Linked DNA regions of Homo sapiens: region 1 is linked to region 2. The links are contacts of gene promoters, found by promoter capture Hi-C in human tissues and cell types (Jung and others, 2019). All regions are on one chromosome and are shown on one strand. Each heading gives the region's core, a stretch centred on a gene start or on the middle of the fragment in contact. The rest is flanking DNA. Distances are from core to core; before and after follow the strand shown.

Region 1 (2,700 bases), core at 61-2,560, 290 kb after region 2:
TATACAAGGAAAACCAAACTAAAGAAGACTGATGAAGGTGCCTCTCTTGTTTGCTCTCTTCACCCGACCAATTTTCATACCAGTGAAGCTCCTTTGGTCAAAATGGTGTAACTGGATGCCTCCCACCCTGGAAAAGCTTTGTAGAAATACTGATCTTAAAATCTCACACCTGGAGGTTAGAGACTAGCATACCCTTCACACTGACTTGCTTTTAAAAGAACAGCTCTACCAAGACCAGGTCTGAAACTCATGAAATGAACAAAAAGAGGGCAGTGACTTGAAATGCAGAGACCTAATGTGTTCCTCTCCATTTCCACTTCAGATTTGCTGACCATGAAAGAATATCACTGTTTGCTGCAATTACTGTGTCCTGATTTCCCGCTGGAGCTCACTCAGAAAGCAGCCAGGTACGTCTCCTGGACTCTTGAAACCAACTCAGCTCTCTGTGGGCCACTGCTTCCTAGAGAAACCTGGAGTGTATACAAATGAAAAAAAGGAGCATTTAGGGAAGAAACTGGCAGTGGGAGAGGGGTCTATTTGGGATGTGCCCCAAAACATAATACATTCTGCATTTCCAAAGGGAAGCGAAATGATCCTTTGTGGTTTCTGTGGGGAGCCTCAGGGTCTGAAGATAGAGTTGGAGGGTGGTGAGATGAAGAGGCAGAAAAAGCCCAGACCCCTCCAATACCCCCACACACACACACCCTAGAGGATATTCTGAGAAAAGAGGGGCTGCATTTGTGTGTTTTCACGCTACTGTAAAGATACTACCCAAGACTGGGTAATTTATGAAGAAAAGAGGATTAATTGACTCACAGTTCCGCGTGGCCTCAGGAAACTTACAATCGTGGTGGAAGGCAAAGGGGAAGCAAGGACCTTTTTCACATGGTGGTAGGAGAGAGAAGTACAGACAGGGGAAATGTCAGACGCTTATAAAACCATCAAATGTCTTCAGAACTCACTCACTATCACAAGAACAGCATGGGGGAAACTGCCCATGTGATCCAATCACCTTCCACCAGGTCTCCCTCTCAACACCTGGGGATTACAATTCGGGTTGAGATTTAGGTGGGAACACAAAGCCTAACCATATCAGGGGGCAAGGGTTGGCAGTGACTTGTGATGAAGAGAGTTGAGGTTGGGGACTGGAAGGGCATAAAGGTGATAAAGCCCCAGTTGAAGGAAAGGCACATTATATTATTTATGCCAGAAGAAGGTTTTCAAGATCAGTCCAGAACCAGGACTTGGCAGAAATAGTTAGAAGCCCCTAATTTCTGTGTTGGGTTTCACCATCATTCACAATTTTTAACCACATGAGGTAATTGGACTATGCCTCAGTTAACTTTTACTTACTTAACTCAAAACCTGAGCTAGGCCAGACACGGTGGCTCACGCCTGTAATCCCAGCAGTTTGGGAGGCCAAGGCAGGCAGATCCCCTGAAGCCAGGTATTCAAGACCAGCCTGGCCTACATGGCGAAACTCCATCTCTACTAAAAATACAAAAAATTAACCAGGCACGGTTGCGCTTGCCTGTAGTCCCAGCTATTCGGGAGGTGGAGGCAAGAGAATTCGCTTGAACCTGGGAGGCGGAGGTTGCAGTGAGCAGAGATCGTGCCATTGCACTCCAGCCTGGGCGACAGAGCAAGACTCCGTCTCAAAAAAAAAAAAAAAAAAAAAAAAAAAAAAAAACCTGAGCTAGGGTTGCAAATGGACGTACAGCAAAAATCATGTTTATCGAAGAATGCCTACCTTCCCTATATCATACTGAATGCATTTACCTTCATTGTTCTATTTAAATTTGTTTACCTTAACTATCTCACCTAATCCTTGTAAAAACTGTTACTTCCCTTTAAAATGATCCTTTGTGGTTTCTGTGGGGAGCCTCCGGCTCTGAAGACAGAGTTGGAGGGTGGTGAGAGTATTAGGCAAACAACAAAACACACACACAAATACATACCCACACTCCCACACACACCCCTAGAGGATATTCTGAGAAAAGAGGAGGCAAGGGTTGGCAGTGACTTGTGATGAAGAGGGTTGCGGTTGGAGACCAGAAGGGCCTGAAAGCAGCTGGGCGTGGTAGCTCATGCCTGTAATCCCAGCACTTTGGGAGGCCGAGGTGGATGGATCACCTGAGGTCAGGAGTTCGAGACCAACCTGACCAACATGGTGAAACCCTGTCTCTGCTAAAAATACAACAATTAGCCTGGCGTGGTGGCAGGCACCTGTAATCCCAGCTACTTGGGAGGCTGAGGCAGGAGAATCACTTGAACCTGGGAGGCAGAGGTTGCAGTGAGCCGATTGTGCCACTGCACTCCAGCATGGGGGACAGAGTGAGACTGAACGTCAAAAAAAAAAAAAAAGGGAGCATGAAAGTGATGAACCCCAGTTGAGGGAAGGGTACTGTTACTGCTCACTTCACTGAAGTGGGAACTGAGGCTCAGACGGGTGACAATGTTGTGCGAATATACTGATAGCTTGTAAGTAGCAGTGGCAGAACTGGAACCGCAGTCAGCCTGAATCCAGAGATGGGGGATCGGGAGCACAAGGAGTCTCTTCATGCTCCCACCTCCCTGTGTCATGGCATCATTTCTGCTTTGTGGTTTGACCCACTGAAAACAAAGCTGCATTGGCTGCACTGCACCAAGAATCACCTCGCTCCTTTTGAAATGTGCCAACCAGCTCCTCTATTGACTTGG
Region 2 (2,700 bases), core at 147-2,646:
GACCTCGTGATCCGCCCGCCTCGGCCTCCCAAAGTGTTGGGATTACAGGCGTCAGCCACCGCGCCCAGCCTAAAATCTTATTTAAAAATTTTTTTACATGAGTTTACCAACTAGATTTAACTTATGGTTGCAAAATAAATTGATTTCACCTTTATCTATATCATTAAATTTGGTAAAAGCATTACAGTTTGTCCAGTCACTTCAGAGAAGTCAAAGTCTTCTACAATTTCTTAAAGTTTCAAAAGATTCTTAGCTTAATTTATTGGCTCTTTAGGTCAAAAGAAGGACTTTTCAGGGTGATGAAAATGGAGGAAGGAGGAGCTCACCTTTCTAAAAATGAGTTTTCAATTACTATAATTATGCATAAGACAGGCAGCATTTCTGGGCCAAGATTTGATGCCTTGGTCCCATGAGAATTAAATTAGAGCCACGCATAAATTTGGGGCAAGTTCTGCAAAAACCACTTCAACCTCTATTGATGCTGAATAAAAAACTCATTGTTAAGATTCATCAACACGAATATATTTTCTAACACACACTAGCCACTCTGGCAACAACCCTTTCATCATTTTCTATCCAAGAAACACAACGGAATGCATTTCAATCCTGCTCAACAATTACCACGATTACAAGTAGAGGGGAGAGCTCAAAAGTAAGAATCTAGTTCACCGAGCCCGACCTTAAAGTAGCAAGGCCCAACCCACACTGCTGGCTATTGTATTGGTTCCCCAACACCTCCAGGGCTGGAAGGACACCAGAACGCTCCCGACACGTTGAGAGAGAGAAAGCCAGTCGTTAAGGGCGGGGTGGTGGATGATCGGAATCGTTCACATCGCAGCAAGCCAGCAGGGACACAGGTGTGCGGCCAGGCCCCGGTGCCGCTGTCCTTGCTCCAGGGCGACAAGGCCCTTCGCAACCACCACAGCCCTCGTAGGCGCTTACTTATTCATTCACTTGACAATTACGCGAGAGGCACTCTAGCAGGGCCGGCTCTCGGGGCCCCCGCCCTAGTCTTGGTAAATCGCTGCCGCCAGGCGCGGCCCTGCACCGCCCGCGCCCCGCGGACGCTGCCACCCGCGCCACGCTGCGGCGCGCTCTGGCCACCTGGAGCCCAACCCCGGCCTCCGCCGCACACGAGCGCCCACGCCCCCGGCCCTGCCCGCCGCAGGTCCCCCGGCCTCCGGCTCGCTTCGCCGCCTCAGACCTGCCGGGTTCGTGGGGCAAGTGGGGCGCGCGTCTGGAGACCTCCAGCCGCCCAGGATTCAGGGGCTCCTCTGCGCGCGCGATGCCTGCACTCGAGGGCCTCGCGGGTGGGGCAGGCCCACCGACCACTCACCTCAGCTGGGTCAGAACCAAGCGGCCTGCTCTAAGCCGTTTGAAACCGCTTGGGCCGCCGCACACCCCGCAGTGTCCTCGTTCTTTATTGGTCCTCGACGGACCGCCCATCGGACTTTTATTGGTCCATTTGAAAGGCCTGTGGGCACGCGCCGCCCGCAGCCTTAAAGGGGCCGCGCGCAGCCGTGTTTCCCTCTGGACCAGACGCCGCCTGCACGGGTGGGGACGCTGGTCGCTGCCGGGGGCAAGTCTGCCGACTCCAGAAAGAAAGGCGAAAGAATGTGTGTAGACCCGGGCATCCTTGGTCGTCAGCATGTTTGCTTTATTTAATTACAGATGTTCAGGCTGCTGTCAACACCCGACAATTTTTTTTGGTCATTTCATTCCCTAGAGATTGTGAAGCTAAGTGCTGTGAGGGAAACCAGAGGCAGCTGAGATGTCGTGGAAGTAACAGCGAATGAAGCCAGGATGCTGGATTCTGACCTTGGAACTGTTCTGAGTAAATCACTTTTCTCAGTAAATCTTCTGGAGTTGTTTCCTTATCTGTAAAATGGGATAACGATGTTTCCCTTACAATTTAATGGAGGAGTTAATATAACTAATAGAATGTCTGAGAAAAGCCTTTGTGAACTGTAACGCATCCTGCAAATGCTTAATATTCCCTTATAAAAACGAGAGGCTTGGTTAACATGATCTCCAGAATTTTAGCTTAGCTCTACATTCAGTGTTTCTGTGAATGAGTTCAGGTCCTTACTTCCAAGGAATTTGTAATCTACAGTGGTTGGAGGAATATAACATACAGACTAGTCACTAAAATTCAAAGCAGTGTAATAACTGTATAAATGAAAAGCTATAAATGCTTAGAGACAGGAGAAATTTGATGGGGGAGGATCTGTGAGGAAGATGAATTTTTAACCTAGGATTTAAAGAATGTGTAGATTCCCAACAGGCTAAAAGATGGAGAGAGGATGGATAAAAGTAAATGAAACAATTACATGTTTTTTCATTGTCAAGTTGGCAGAGATGAAAAAGTTCAACAGCCTTTGGTTGGTCAAGATTTGGAAAAACAGGCTGGGTGCAATGGCTTATGCCTGTAATCCTAGCGCTTTGGGAGGCCGAGGCAGGAGGATTGCTTGAGGCCAGGAGTTCAAGACCAACCTGGGTCTTGCTATCAAGACCCCATCTCTGTTTTTAAAAATATAAAGAGATTTGGAAAAATGGACACTCAAAGTCAATATTGGTAAGAGTATAATTGGTACAAACCTTTAGGAGGACAATTTGACAGTTACTAAAATGTACATAATCTAGTTCTGGCCCAGTAATCCACTATGAGGAATTTATCGTACAGATCTGTGCAAGTATGCA

The links. Contacts are between HindIII fragments. The study calls those that stand out against the background at their distance.
Region 1: a contact is called between a fragment that was not itself captured here and the fragment with the promoter of CKAP5 in region 2, in 2 of the 25 tissues and cell types used here (IMR-90 fibroblasts and dorsolateral prefrontal cortex).

What each region holds. Positions count from the first base shown.
Region 1 is chr11:47,137,323-47,140,022 of GRCh38, forward strand. CSTPP1 (centriolar satellite-associated tubulin polyglutamylase complex regulator 1) reads left to right here. Exons shown (of 9, transcript NM_024113.5): 4 at 323-407. Among named protein-coding and RNA genes, the nearest start is that of ARFGAP2, 38 kb to the right of the region's middle. The HindIII fragment of the contact is 3,299 bases long and covers 1-2,700 here.
Region 2 is chr11:46,844,884-46,847,583 of GRCh38, forward strand. It overlaps CKAP5 (cytoskeleton associated protein 5), which reads right to left and starts at 1,397. Exons shown (of 44, transcript NM_001008938.4): 1 at 1,337-1,397. It overlaps LRP4-AS1 (LRP4 antisense RNA 1), which reads left to right and starts at 1,528. Exons shown (of 3, transcript NR_038909.1): 1 at 1,528-1,616; 2 at 1,727-1,834. RefSeq lists enhancers at 640-1,217, 1,672-1,791 and silencers at 1,052-1,201, 1,382-1,461. The HindIII fragment of the contact is 16,643 bases long and covers 1-2,700 here.